Linked DNA regions of Homo sapiens: regions 2, 3 and 4 are each linked to region 1. The links are contacts of gene promoters, found by promoter capture Hi-C in blood cells and fetal thymus (Javierre and others, 2016). All regions are on one chromosome and are shown on one strand. The core of a region is centred on a gene start or on the middle of the fragment in contact, and the rest is flanking DNA. Distances in the headings are between cores, read along the strand shown. Region 1 holds the start of NOC3L (NOC3 like DNA replication regulator). Region 2 holds the start of SLC25A28 (solute carrier family 25 member 28). Region 3 holds the start of GOT1 (glutamic-oxaloacetic transaminase 1). Region 4 overlaps SHLD2 (shieldin complex subunit 2).

The links. The method cuts DNA at HindIII sites, captures the fragments that hold promoters and counts their contacts. A CHiCAGO score of 5 or more calls a contact.
Region 2: a contact is called between a fragment that was not itself captured here and the fragment with the promoter of NOC3L in region 1, in 3 of 17 cell types (activated CD4 T cells, naive CD8 T cells and fetal thymus). The highest score is 10.0, in activated CD4 T cells.
Region 3: a fragment that was not itself captured here is called in contact with the fragment with the promoter of NOC3L in region 1 in 3 of 17 cell types (non-activated CD4 T cells, activated CD4 T cells and naive CD8 T cells); the score reaches 10.0 in non-activated CD4 T cells.
Region 4: a fragment that was not itself captured here is called in contact with the fragment with the promoter of NOC3L in region 1 in 1 of 17 cell types (total B cells); the score reaches 5.2 in total B cells.

What each region holds. Positions count from the first base shown.
Region 1 is chr10:94,361,641-94,365,101 of GRCh38, reverse strand. NOC3L (NOC3 like DNA replication regulator) reads left to right here and starts at 2,163. Exons shown (of 21, transcript NM_022451.11): 1 at 2,163-2,272; 2 at 3,230-3,437. The coding sequence starts at 2,264. RefSeq lists a silencer at 1,960-2,089 and an enhancer at 2,230-2,489. The HindIII fragment of the contact is 1,523 bases long and covers 1,735-3,257 here.
Region 2 is chr10:99,617,871-99,621,308 of GRCh38, reverse strand. SLC25A28 (solute carrier family 25 member 28) reads left to right here and starts at 870. Exons shown (of 4, transcript NM_031212.4): 1 at 870-1,264. The coding sequence starts at 974. It overlaps SLC25A28-DT (SLC25A28 divergent transcript), which reads right to left and starts at 464. Exons shown (of 1, transcript NR_186534.1): 1 at 1-464. RefSeq lists silencers at 130-289, 1,020-1,179 and enhancers at 1-478, 1,062-1,644. The HindIII fragment of the contact is 1,873 bases long and covers 679-2,551 here.
Region 3 is chr10:99,427,123-99,430,681 of GRCh38, reverse strand. GOT1 (glutamic-oxaloacetic transaminase 1) reads left to right here and starts at 58. Exons shown (of 9, transcript NM_002079.3): 1 at 58-234. The coding sequence starts at 117. RefSeq lists enhancers at 88-137, 158-217. The HindIII fragment of the contact is 893 bases long and covers 897-1,789 here.
Region 4 is chr10:87,095,793-87,099,216 of GRCh38, reverse strand. SHLD2 (shieldin complex subunit 2) reads right to left here. Exons shown (of 10, transcript NM_001330112.2): 2 at 2,228-2,283. Among named protein-coding and RNA genes, the nearest start is that of SHLD2, 2.3 kb to the right of the region's middle. RefSeq lists an enhancer at 3,361-3,420. The HindIII fragment of the contact is 450 bases long and covers 1,601-2,050 here.

The DNA of each region.
Region 1 (3,461 bases), core at 914-3,413:
GGGCAACAGAGAAAAAAAATAAAAAAAGGCAATCTTTATATTAAAAAAGAAAATACTAGCACAGGATTGGGCTATGACAATAGAGAAGAGAAAGTGGAGACGCTAAAAGAATACTTTTTTCTGGAAGTAGGGACAAGTAGGAAAAGAGGCACATAAAAGAGCAATTAAAGGGAGATAAGTTTATTAGAACAAATCTTAAAAATGGAAGAGATTTGAATATGTTTATAAGCTGAGGGGAAGGATCTATTAGAGAGGGAAAGAACACAGGAAAGAAGGGATAATTAATGATACAAGAATCTGATGAAGCTGGGAGGAGTTGGTTTTGAACTGGAATGGGGATGCCTCATCCTTGGAGAGACTGGAAGGAAGGCTAAAAGGATGGGAGTGACTGTAGATATGTTGATATGCTTGGGAGGGAATTCAGGCACTTGGGAAGAGCACAGGCTGATGTTTTCCACTTGTTTGATGAAGTAATACTCCAGCGGGACAGGCTCTGCTGTTTCTGACACTGTGTGGAAGGAGACAGAGCAAGGAAGAAGTTGGAAGGGAGGTTGAAAGAAGAGTGCCAGATGGACCTCTTGGTCTTTGTGGTGGGATCAGGAAATTGGTACTTTTTTCCCTCAGTCTCTCTAAGAGCAACACTATTCAAGGGGCTCAGAACCCTTTGAGCCGCACTACTGGGTTTTCCCACCTGCTCAGGACTGCGAGGCCAGACTCTGTGTCAGGGCCATGCTCAAAAATCATAGACTCAAAAAAACCCACAAAAAACTTGAAGTGGAATGCTTAAATTTATTGAGAAAAAAAAGTCTTTGAGAGACAAGCACTTTGATACTCTTATTCTTGCAATCCATAAAACTTCCTGTAAAAATGAACGACTTTAGGCGGGGCGCGGTGGCTCATGCCTGTTATCCCAGCACTTTGGGAGGCCAAGGTGGGCGAATCACGAGGTCAGGAGATCGAGACCATCCTGGCTAACACGGTGAAACCCCGTCTCTACTAAAAATACAAAAAAAATTAGCTGGGCGTGGTGGCGGGCGCCTGTAGTTCCAGTTACTCGGGAGGCTGAGGCAGGAGAATGGCGTGAACCCAGAAGGCAGAGCTTGCAATGAGCCCAGATTGCGCCACTGCACTCCAGCCTGGGCGCCAGAGCAAGACTCCGTCTCAAAAAACAAAAACAAAAAACGACTTTGGTGAAATTACTAAGCAGACAGAATTTACCCAAAGTTGTAAGATACTGAAATGCAGATACAGTTTTTTATTTTTATTTTTATTTTTTAGACAGTCTTGCTCTGTCACCCAGGCTGGAGTGCAGTGGTGTGATCTCGACTCACTGCAACCTCTGCCTCCTGGGTTCAAGCGATTCTCCTGCCTCAGCCTCCCGAGTAGCTAGGATTACAGGCGCACGCCACCATGTCTGGCTGATTTTTGTATTTTTAGTAGAGACAGGGTTTCACCATGTTGGCCAGGCTGGTCTCGAACTCCTGGAACTCAGGTGATCCACCCGCCTCTGCCTCCCTAAGTGCTGGGATTACAAGCGTGAACCACCGCACCCAGCCATGGATACAGTTCTTTATCAGCTAATGGTTAAAAATTAAAGCAAAAAAAAAATGCAAAATAAAACACTAAGAATCACAGACTTTTAAGTGACCAAGGCTGATGAGAAATCATTCGCCATGCTACAAACACGGCCAGAATGTCCGTCGAGGGGCAGGCATTACACACAAAAAATAAGCTTCTTTCTGCCCTCAGGACTGTATGGAGGAAAAAGACTACGAAAATCAGTATCTATAACAGCATGAGATAAGCAACGTGAGGAGAGGCACAAAATGCAATGAGGTGACCGAAAAAACCAAGTCCTCTCATTCTGAGAGGAGGAGCCCGATTTCCCCAAGGTTTTAAAAGAAATAAATAGGGCGAGAGTCAAAGAATCATACTCAGATAACCTTGCAAAATGCGCCCCTCCCGCCCGGCTTCCCGCCTTTGGCACCGACGCCCTCGGGGCTTCCCTCGTGCCAGTCCGCGCGCGCACGCCGGGGGGCAACCGGTCCAGGGCCGCGAGACAGTCACCGCGAGAGGGCGCGAGCCCGAACCTGTCTACGGAAGTCCCGCCCTCACTTCCGGCGGCGGAGGATTGGGAGGGACTGAAGGCCGTTTCCGGCTCTGGTAGTGTAGGGACTTCGGCACGTGTGTCATTCCCCGGGATTTCTGTAGTAACCCTGCTTCTGGTGAACTTGTCTGGCCGGCATTCATTTAAGGCCTAAGGATGAAGGCGGTAAGTGTCCTCAAAAGCCCGGTCGCCGCGGCCTAGGGCCCCTTCGGGTGATAGAGTCACTGCCTGAGTTAGCTTTTAGGCAGGTTTTCACCCGTGTCTAGGGGGCGGTGGTTTAGACTGGGGGCTTTCCATTCCTTACACCGAGCTCATCCTTGGTTACCCACTGTGTGCGCGCACCACTTCAGAGTATCACGAAGAGACAGGCACGGAGTTTTGCATGCGTGGGATTTCATACTTTGAAGGAATTTTTCAAGACCGTCTTTCGAACTCGTTTTTCACAAATGAGAAGCAGGGTCCTACCCTCAGCGAGTTTATAATGTGAGTCACGGTACCCATGAAGGGTAAAGAGATAGAAAAGCAAGTGATTTGTCCTGGTTCTCCCAGAAAATAAGAGGTAGTCCTGGGGTTCAGGACTAACTTTGGGATTTCTGAATGAGTCACCAGCAAGAGAAGTGGAATCCAAAGATCCGAATTCAGTTTTGCCCTCCTTAGTTTATGGGTCTTTTGGCAGCTTCATCAGTAATGTGAGGATAACAGCAGTCAGTACTCAACTAGGCTGTTAGAGGTGATTTGTTGGAGCACTTTGTAAGTAATAAAATCGTAGATAAATGTAAGTTTTATTAAAGACAGCCAGCATTTTGCTTTGAATGTGTTAAACTACAGGTGTGTTAAACTAGCCTTGAATAGCCACTTACCACTACTAGATCAGTGGTTCTTAACCTGTTTGGGGATCGTAGAACCCTTTGAATTGCTGTGAATTGGGATTGAATAACTGATGCTGTAGCGCTCTTCTGTAGGATTAAAGCCATCGTTTGGTTTTAGCTTTTATATGCAAGTCTGTGGCTGTGGGACATTGAAATTGTGGAATTGGTCTAATGAAATTTGTAATCAGTTCTCTTTAACCTGATTTAAAAAATAAGTTTCTGGGTATGCAGTATTCTTTCTGTTATTTTCTAGAGAAGAAATAAAAAACAGATCCCAAGCTTTCGCAAGTTAATAAAAACTAGTAAAGTCAAACTTGAAAACAAGCTAAAAAATAAGCAGTTTAAACAACAAAGCACTCTCAAGAAGTACCGAAAAGAACAGAGGAAACTAAGGCAAGCTGTGAAAGATGCTGTGTCTAAGAAACCCATTCCATTGGAGAACCCAAAGGAAAAGCGACCAGGTAATTGTGAAAACATCATGTGCT
Region 2 (3,438 bases), core at 366-2,865, 5.3 Mb before region 1:
GGGCCCGGGGAACCTCATTCATTCAACACTTGTTGGGTTTACTCTGCGAATGTGGATGCGAGGCTCAGTGCCGGGCGCTGGGGCCTGAGGAGCACCGAGTCCGGCCAGAGGGCCCAATACTCCAGACCCGACCAGAGTCTAGCGGGCCGCCGCGGTCCCCCCTGGAGGTGAGGCGGTTCCCAGCCCGCATGTCGCAACGGCTTCCCGGACAGGCTGCGGGTCGCGCCAGCCAGGGATGACCGGCCCAGGCCGGCCCCGCCTCACGCCCGCGACGAGATCCCGCGGGAACACGGCTCTCCGGGGCCAGGGCCGCCCGCTCTCCAGCCACGCGTCTCAGAATTTGAGGAGCGCACGGGAGCGCGGGTCGTAACGGCGCCCGTCAGCAGTTTGACGTTGAAGGCCTGTCGCCGCCCCGCCCCCGACGCGATCCCGCGCACAGGGACCGCAGCTCTGCAGGCGCTAGTGAGGGGCCCGAAGTCGGCCCCTAGAGTCCCTGGGCGCGTCGCTCTTTCTGTAGCCAATCGGGGACCGACGTGGTGCGGGCCAATGGCCGCGGTCAAAGTATCAAGAGTGGTTGAGCCTATCAAAGTTCAGCCTTAAGTTTCTCCCGCCCTTCTAAAAGTCAGAGGCGGGTTGATCGCACATGTCGGCCAATCAGTGACCAATAAACAAGAAGCTTCTAAGATCAAAGGGGAAAAGGTGGGATGTAGGCGCTAGCAACGCCTCAGGGCGGAGGAATGACAGGCGACTTCGCTAATACTACCGGCTGATTTTTCGTACGTAAGGAAAGGGGTGGGTCTAACTTGGCGTCTCCACCAATGGTTGCTTGGGGGGCGTGTCCGCGGGGCCAAGCGGGAGCCGGAGGCCCCGGGCTCTCTGGGCCGCGCCTGAGGCGGACACTACGGGGCCGGGGGGCGGCGGCGGCAGTGGTGGCAGCGGCGGCGGGGGTGGGCGCCGCAGCTGGCCCGGGTGGATGGAGTTGGAGGGGCGGGGTGCTGGCGGTGTGGCGGGGGGGCCGGCGGCAGGGCCCGGGCGGAGCCCCGGGGAGTCGGCGCTGCTGGACGGGTGGCTGCAGCGGGGCGTGGGCCGGGGGGCCGGCGGCGGGGAGGCCGGGGCCTGCAGGCCCCCGGTACGACAAGATCCGGACTCCGGCCCGGACTACGAGGCGCTGCCGGCTGGAGCCACTGTCACCACGCACATGGTGGCAGGCGCCGTGGCAGGGATCCTGGAGCACTGCGTGATGTACCCCATCGACTGCGTCAAGGTGAGACCTGCACCCGGCTTCGAACCCGACCTGGGGCTGACCCGACCCCTGGGTCTTGTCCGGAGCCAGGATCCCGGCTGAGAGCCGGAGCCGACATGGGTTCCTTCCTGGCTCCTGCCACTACCACATGATTCGAACCGACACTCCATTCAAGCAAGGTCCCAGCTGGGAGTTGATCCCAGTCAGGAACCAGGACCTATTTCTAACCGTCAGTGAAATCTGAATCGGGACTCAGGATCGAAAATCTGTCAGCCAAAGCCCTGGACCCCACCTGGGACTAAACAGGAATAGGGTGGGATGGGGTATCCCGAAGCTCAGGTAAGTGCTACTAACTCGATTAAGGTGAAGCCAACTGGCGTGAACCAGACCCTGAAATGGATCTAACGGCTTGAGATGTTTTCTGGGCTAGTGCTTTTACAAACTCCTTGCTGTATCTTCCCTTACTGACGGGGCAGGAACCCGAATCTGGGATCTCTCAGCTAGATAAAGGACTTACATGTTAAATCTTAACACATGAGTGATTGGAAATCATTGTGCAGTGAGAATGCAGAATTCCAGACTGGAAGTAATGTGGGAAAGATCGTATTCAGGAATAGGTTTCAGTTTCTCTGTGAAGCAAGCATGATACCCCACCTATTTCCTGAACATGAAAATTGAGCTGGGATTAGGACTGTATGTTCAGGGAGCACATCAGCCTCCAAACAAGAGAGATGAAACTGATAGCATATTTCTTTGGCCACCTGAAGTTGGCAAAAAGGGAGAAGTTGCCTAGAAAGGAAGTGTGACGGTATTAGAAAGTAGATGTAAGTATGAAGAAAATGGAAAGAGATCAACAAGAGGACACGATTCTTGTGAAAGTAAAACTAATTGCATTCACAACCAAGCAGGATGATTTATGTGTACTGAAGTCAGGTCCTTCTGAAGAAAGCTGGGTGAAGAAAGAAACAGATTATTGTTCTTTACAGTTCTTATTCTTGTACATTAGTAAAGGTGCCAGCCATTAAAGGTGAGGACTGAATTGAGGGAGAGGTAAACTAGAGGGGACTGTTGATATGACAAAGACCGATGCCTCCTTTACATGTGAAGGGTAATAGTCAAACAGTGACCTGGCAGCTTTTTGATGTATGTTTTCTCTTCAAATCAGGAAAGTGTTATGTATTCAAAAGGAGGAGAGAATCAACTTGGGAAAGGCAAAGTAGATCCCTTTTACTTCCCTTTGGTTCCAGTACTGTTTCATGTTTTTCATTAGAATGTGGATAAGGAAATGGGGGGAGCGCTCATTAAGCTTTGTGAATGACAGCAAACTGGCAGGAGTATTTTAACACAAGGTAACTCCTAACAAGGGCCATATCCATTGAAAACGGGGTAAATGCACTTGACTAAAATGGACATTAGAATGTTAAATGTCCTTGTCAATTGGGAGAAATAGAAATAAACTGTAAAATCCATGAGAGAGAAGTAACAACATTGAAATGTAAAACAAGTATAAATAAAAAAGATGCACACATTATATGTATAGACTCTAGGTTGAATGACTTGTGAGTTAATAATGCCGTATATCCAAAAGTTAATATAATCTAGCTGCAGAGTAACCTCCCTAGACTTAGACTGTGAGTAGAGTGCAGGGTTTAGGATGCTGTTTTTCTGGATGAGTATTGAATGGAAAACAGATCAATGAAAACAGTGAAAATTATGTAATGGCTTGAAAAATACAGTGTAATAATTTGTCTTAGAAATATTACTGTAACTTATCAATTTAACCACTGTTCCATTATAACAGAACGGGAGGTTATCTCCTTACTCCATATATTTACATAGTGCTATTGTTGCTATAAACATTTTATAAATCCCTGTTAAAAATGCTTCTAGAATATTTGGGTGCATGTCCTTAAGGGAGGCAAATCTTTGCCCTGTGACAAGATGGAATTGATTTTGCAAGAACAAAGACTATTCAGAATCAAATATGGTGAATAAAGTGGGAGGTCAAAATGGGTAATACTGCTTGGCATCAAAATAAGGTGGGACTGGAAAGCAAGGAGACTGCTTTACTTCTGAGGCCTATAAACCCGTTGAGGAAACACCTCTGAAAGAGAAGTTCCAGAAAGGTTTTGCATAACCACAGCTTTGCTGGAATAAGTCAATTGTAGCCTTCCAAGGTAACTATTTTGAAGAAC
Region 3 (3,559 bases), core at 94-2,593, 5.1 Mb before region 1:
GCGGGCCCGCCCCCGCCGGCTAGGTGAAGGTGAGTGTCTCCTCCAGTCGCAACGGCCAGACCTGACCTGCCAGCTCCGGGCGTGGGGTGAAATCTCTTGATTCCTAGTCTCTCGATATGGCACCTCCGTCAGTCTTTGCCGAGGTTCCGCAGGCCCAGCCTGTCCTGGTCTTCAAGCTCACTGCCGACTTCAGGGAGGATCCGGACCCCCGCAAGGTCAACCTGGGAGTGGGAGGTAAGGATGTAGTGCTCTGGAGTGTGAGCAGCTCGGGGAGTGGAGCGGACCCAACCCAGGTCGTGGAGACTGTGGGAGAAGCCGAGGCCCAGTGTGGCGCTGCCTGAAGAGGGCGGCGCCGGAGAGGAGGCTGGATCCACGAAGGCTTCCTAAAACCTGCCCATTTTACAGATGCAGGTGTGGAGTCCCTGGAAAGGGGCGATGTGTCCGAGGCCGCACAAACCAGGTGTAGCAGCCAAGACACAAACTCAGTCTTTCCGATTCCCCATTCTGCCTTCTTTATACTGCATCCTCCTAAGAAATGAGGCTGCCGGAGCTTGTAGAGAGAGGTAGAAAAATAGGAAGCCTGATAGGCTTAGGGTTCTGGTTGCTAGGAAATGGGTAAAGGAGAACTTTTAACGCTAGAAAGCTCTGTTCTGAGTCGGTAAATATTTGAGTGACCACCGAGTATCAATCAGCCACCTTATTAAGCTTTGTAGGGGGAGACTGAGGCTTGATTTTGCCCTTAAGGATTTAAAAATCTGCTGGTGTTACACAATGCTTTGAGACAGGTTAATGCTGCCCCCGGGGGGTCTGGGGAGATGGTTCTGGCCGTCACAGATGTGGTAGGAATGGGTAGAGATGGTGGAAAGGAGTGGAGAGAAGTATGGATGGTAGAAGCTTACTTTCCACACATCCTATCTTCATTTCTTGATTCAAGTGATTCTCTTCTGTACCTTGGACAGCTCAGAGCATGGGCCTCAGTTTCCCCATCTGCCAAGAAGATTTATATTGGAGTGCCTCTCAAATTTTTTACCCCTAACCCTCTCTGATGAATTTGTTATTCTTCTCACTATCATTTGGATGTTTGAAGCCCCACAGACACTTATTTTCTCCATTTGGATTTTGCCACGTGCAAAGACCAGCCAGAGAGATGAAAATGGGTAGGATAAAGTCTTATGCTAGGTAATAGACTTAGAATAAAAGGACTAGAAATTGTGGAAAGAGAAGGTGGAATCATTTTGTAGCAGAGTGTGACATGAAGGACGCTCAGAATCAGGTTTCTCATAGATAACGTTTTGTCTGTGCATAGCATTTGTTAAAAAAAAAAAAAAAAAGTCGGCCGGGCGCGGTGGCTCAGGCCTGTAATCCCAGCACTTTGGGAGGCTGAGACGGGCGGATCACGAGGTCAGGAGATGAGACCATCGTGGCTAACACGGTGAAACCCCATCTCTACTAAAAATACAAAAAAGTATCCGGGCGTGGTGTTGGCCGCCTATAGTCCCAGGTACTCGGGAGGCTGAGGCAGAAGAATTGCTTAAACCCGGGAGACGGAGGTTGCAGTGAGCCGAGATCGTGCCATTGCACTCCAGGCTGGGCGACAGAGCGAGACTCTTTCTCAAAAAAAAAAAAAAGTCTTCACTAAGGAGTATGGGGAGGGGTAAGGAAAAATCCATTGAAAAGTGATGGTTTGTTGAAGCGGGTAATTTGTTGAAGCTGGATGATGGGTACATGGGCATACGTTATATTATTCTCTCAGCTTTTGTATAGGTTTGAAATTTTTCATCATAAAGCTTTTAAGATAAGTCAGTACTACATAGTTTGGCCCATTGAGGGAAAATGATGTTTTTAGCAGGCAACTGAGTGGGAGAAATGTTGAAAGATTGCCTCAAATTGAATTTGAATGGACACCATTTGGTCTCTTAATTTAAAACCAGTCCAAAACCTCCAAGCGTTTCTTTGCAGCGGGATGTATACAAAGAACTAGTATTACTGTCAATCTAAATACATCTTTTTAAAACGTCAGATTTTGCCTGCCACGGTGGCTCACGCCTGTAATCCCAGCACTTTGGGAGGCCAAGGCAGGTGGATCACCTGAGGTCAGGAGTTCGAGACCAGCCTGGCTAACATGGTGAAACCCCATCTTTACTAAAAATACAAAAATTAGCCAGACGTGGTGGTGCACACTGGTAGTCACAGCTACTTGGGAGGCTGAAGCAGGAGAATCGCTTGAACCTGGGAGGTGGCGGTTGCAGTGAGCCAAGATCACGCCATTGTACTCCAGCCTGGGTAACAGAGTGAGACTCCGTCTCAAGAAAGAAAGAAAAAAAAAAACAAAAAACCACGTCAGATTTATTTTATTAATTCAATTTACCTTTGAACTATCTTACAGGGTTTCTGTGAGGATTAAGTACATTTAAAGTGTTTATAGCTGTATTTGGCACATAAGTAGGATTTATATAAGTGTTAGGTATTACTGTTATTGTTGTTTTGGCATTTCTTTGAGTGATTCTCATAAAAGATATTGAATAAAAATTTTCAGTTCAAGAACTGCAAAATGAACTAATTTATGACCTTGGTTCAGAAATAAACTGCTCCTGCAGAGAAAAAGCACCCCGACAGCACAGGCCAGAAGCAATGGACTCAGAATTGGAGTCATTGACTCAGACGGCCACCTCAGCTGTGAAGGTGCCTTTGTCATGTTTTCCAGGAACTCCAACTCCTTACCATGAGCAAATTATTTATGCATGTAATCTCACTGAATGCTCACAACTCTGGAGGGTGGTTTATTACTATTACTGTTTAGAGGCAAGGAAGCCGAAGACTGGAGAGGTGAAGCAATTTGCCCCAGGTCATTTGACCACTGGGTGGTAGAGCTGGGAATCCAGGCCAGGTCTCTCAGGCCTCAGAGTCTCTGCCCACACCTGTATTTCAGGTACCTCCAGGTGGTAGCCAGTACACTGTAGTGGGAAGAGCCAGGAGACCTAGGTACAGGCCCAGCACCGTGGTCCAGCCATGTGACTTGGAAGGGTTGTTTAACATCCCTGGGGCTCATCTGTTAAATGAGGAGCCAAGATTGAATGACCTCTCTCCCAAATTCTACTCTTAAGATTCTACTGGGCCAGGCATGGTGGCTCACGCCTGTAATCCCAACGCTTTGGGAGGCCGAGGCGGGCGGATCACGAGGTCAGGAGATTGAGACCATCCTGGCTAACACGGTGAAACCCCGTCTCTACTAAAAATACAAAAAAATTAGCAGGGCGTGGTGGCGGGCGCCTGCAGTCCCAGCTACACGGGAGGCTGAGGCAGGAGAATGGCGTGAACCCAGGAGGCGGAGCTTGCAGTGAGCTGAGATCGCGCCACTGCACTCCAGCCTGGGCAACAGAGTGAGACTCCGTCTCAAAAATAAATAAATAAATAAATAAATAAAAAAGATTCTACTGTACTAAAAGTCAACTCCACAATTCACTAGCACATTCTATGACTGTAGCGTAGGATAATAATTTTACTGGCCTCATCAGTTGTCTGAGGATTAAATGAATAATTATATGTGAAATGTGATATA
Region 4 (3,424 bases), core at 576-3,075, 7.3 Mb after region 1:
CCTGGAATTTTAAACCAGCTAAGGAAAACTCTAAGGCAGAAAACTCATTTGACTTTGTGGAATGCTATTGAATGTTCCCTTCAAGCTGAATTTTGGTCTTCGTTTGAATGGGAAATTACTACAAATAATTAAACTTTATTGTGTGAGGCATGGTGGCTCACACTTGGAATCCCAGCACTGTGGGAGGCAGAGGCGGGCATATCGCTTGAGCCCAGGAGTTCGAGACCAGCCTGGGCAACATAGTGAAACCCCACCTCTACCAAAAAGACAAAAGTTAGCCGGGAGTGGCGGCAGGTGCCTATAGTCCTAGCTACTCAGGAGGCTGAGGTGGGAGGATTGCCTGAGCCCAGGAAGTCCAGGCTGTGGTAAACTGTGATCGTGCCACCGCACTCCAGCCTGGGTGACACAGTGAGACCCTGTCTCGAAAAATAAAAATAAAAAAAAACCTTACTTTGCAAATTATCTGTATATTTTACAAAAGCAATCATAAATCTAAAGTTGAAATTCATTAGACTTTATATCACAGTAAATAATTTCTAACTAAATGGAACAAATACTTAAAATACTCCTTGGAATAGTATAAATAGTATAACTTTGGAGTCAGATACACAGGTTTGAATCTTACCCTATTTACAAGCTTGGTGATCATCAACAATTTGTTTGGTTTCTGTGGGCCTCACTCCCTGTTTTTTTTTTTTTTTTTGAGATGGAGTTTCATTCTTGTTACCCAGGCTGGAGTGCAATGGCGCAATCTCAGCTCACTGAAACCTCCGCCTCCCAGGTTCAAGCAATTCTCCTGCCTCAGCCTCCTGAGTAGCTGGGATTACAGGGATTCACCATCACACCAGGCTAATTTTGTATTTTTAGTACAGATGGGGTTTCTCCATGTTGGTCAGGCTGGTCTCGAACTCCCAACCTCAGGTGATCCGCCCGCCTCAGCCTCCCAAAGTGCTGGGATTACAGGTATGAGCCACCACGCCCAGCCACTCCCTGCTTCTAATAAATCAGGAATTATAATACCTACAGTGTGAAAAGAAATACTCCAAATATTCACTAAATGGGGGAAGAGATGGATAATTTCATTCTGTTTTTCTAAAATCTATTTCTGCTGTTCATATTTTTTTAACAACTTGTATGTAATTTTAAAACATAATGACCAGGTGCAGTGGCTCAACACCTGTAATCCCAGCACTTTCGGTGGCCAAGGCGGGCAGATCATTTGAGGCCAGGAGTTTGAGAACAGCCTGGCCAACACTGTGGAACTTCGTCTCTATTAAAAATACAAAAAAATTAGCCTGGCATGGTGGCGGGCGCCTGTAATCCCAGCTGCTCGGGAGGCTGAGGCAGGAGAATCACTGGAACCTGGGAGGCAGAGGCTGCAGTGAGCTGAGATTGCACCACTGCACTCCAGCATGGGCAACAGAGCAAGACTGTCTCAAAAAAACAAAACAAAACAAAACCATGATGATTTTAAAAATAAAAACATCTGTTTTATAGGGTACTCATGAAGCCAGTTTGTAAGGCACCTACACACAGGAGATTCTCAATTAAAAAAAAAATAGTAATTTCCACAGCTCTATTCCTCACCTCTTCCAAAGCTTCTTCAATTCTGCCTTTCCTTTTTTGAGATGAAGACTCGCTCTGTTGCCCAGGCTGGAGTGCAATGGCACGATCTCGGCTCACTGCAACCTCTCTCCCTGGTTCAAGTGGTTCTCCCAAGTAGCTGGAACTACAAGCACTGCCCAACCCCCTCCCCGCCACCACGCCTGGCTAATTTTTGTAGGCCCCCCACCACGCTTGGCTTATTTTTGTATTTTTAGTAGAGACAAGGTTTCACTGTGTTGCCCAGGCTGGTCTCGAACTCCTGACCTCAAGTGATCCGCCCACTTTAGCCTCCTAAAGTGCTGGGATTACAGGCGTGAGCCACCTCCTTAGGCCCAATTCCACCTTCTTGAATTCAGGTGAACAAGTCACAGAAGAAGCAAAGTTAAACATTTATTTTTCTGAAGGCTAAGGTTATAAAGAACAACAAAAACAATAAAACTAAGCTTTTAAAGATTTTTCCTCAGAACATAAACAAATAATTTAATCCAAAAAGAAAAATATTTCCATGTTTACTGATGCTAATCATTTTATTCTGAAACTCCGTGGGTTTTTTGCAGGAGTGGGGGATTGCAATGTAAGAGAGTAAAACGATAATACATCCAGAAAAAAGGAAATTTGATACCTTAATCTTTTGACCATCAAGGAAAATTCAGGATTCAGGTCAGAGTACATTTTTCACTGAAAAACACAGTGCAAATACAATTAATGACAATGACTTATTTAGCAAGTAAGGTAAAATATAAGTTCCACCTGTATGAAAAGATAATTTTGACTTTGAGAGTACACTTAGATGAATGTCATTTAACAGATCCAGGTTGTCACCTTATATTTTACACAATATTTCGAGAACTAAGAACTTTCTCTTCCATATTCTAAAAGATGAATAACATGAACATATCGGGAAGCACCATCGTTTTGCAGGTCCAATGGGTGTCATTTTAAAACCACCCAAGTACACTGAGACCGCTAACGCTAGTAATGTGGTGTTTGGCAGCTAGTTTTAATGACTGTCATTAGAGCTTTATTTTTTATTTTCTTTTTATAGAGACGAGCCCAGGCTGGTCTTGAACTCCTGGCCTCAAGCGATCAGCCTGCTTTGGCCCCCAAAGTGCTGGGATTACAGGCGTGAGCCACCGTGCCAGCCTCGTTAGTTTGAAAAGCACCAAAAGCTATCCATAGGAATGTGAACTTTAGCATTTCCTATCAAGTATGTATAAATACATAACTGAACCCTCATACAGCATAAAGCTTATAAATCATATACTGAGGCCAGGCGCGGTGGCTCACGTCTGTAATCCCAGCATTCTGGGAGGCCTAGGCGGGCGGATCACTTGAGGTCAGGCGTTGGAGACCAGCCTGGCCAGCACAGCGAAACCCCGTCTCTACTAAAAATGCAAAAATTAGCCGGGCGTGGTGGCGCGGGCCTGTAATCCCAGCTACCCCGAGGCTGAGGCAGGAGAATCGCTAGAACGAACCCAGGGAGGTGGAAGCTGCAGTGAGCCGAGATGGTGCCACTACACTCCCGCCTGGGCGACAGAGCAAGATTCCATCTCAAATAAATAAATAAAATAAAAAATAAATCATATACTGAACCATTTAACAAATACATATATTCCTGAGAAAGAATTTCCTGGGGGCATTATCGCATTTCTAGTTTCCTTATTTTAGACTATTTCAGAGGGAGATAGGGTCTCCCTCTGTTGCCCAGGCTGGGGTGCAGTGGAGCTATCGTAGCTCACTGCAGCCTCGAACTCCTGGGCTCAAGCCATCCTCCAGCCTCGACCTCCCAAAGTGCTAGGACTAAAGGCGTGAGCCACCG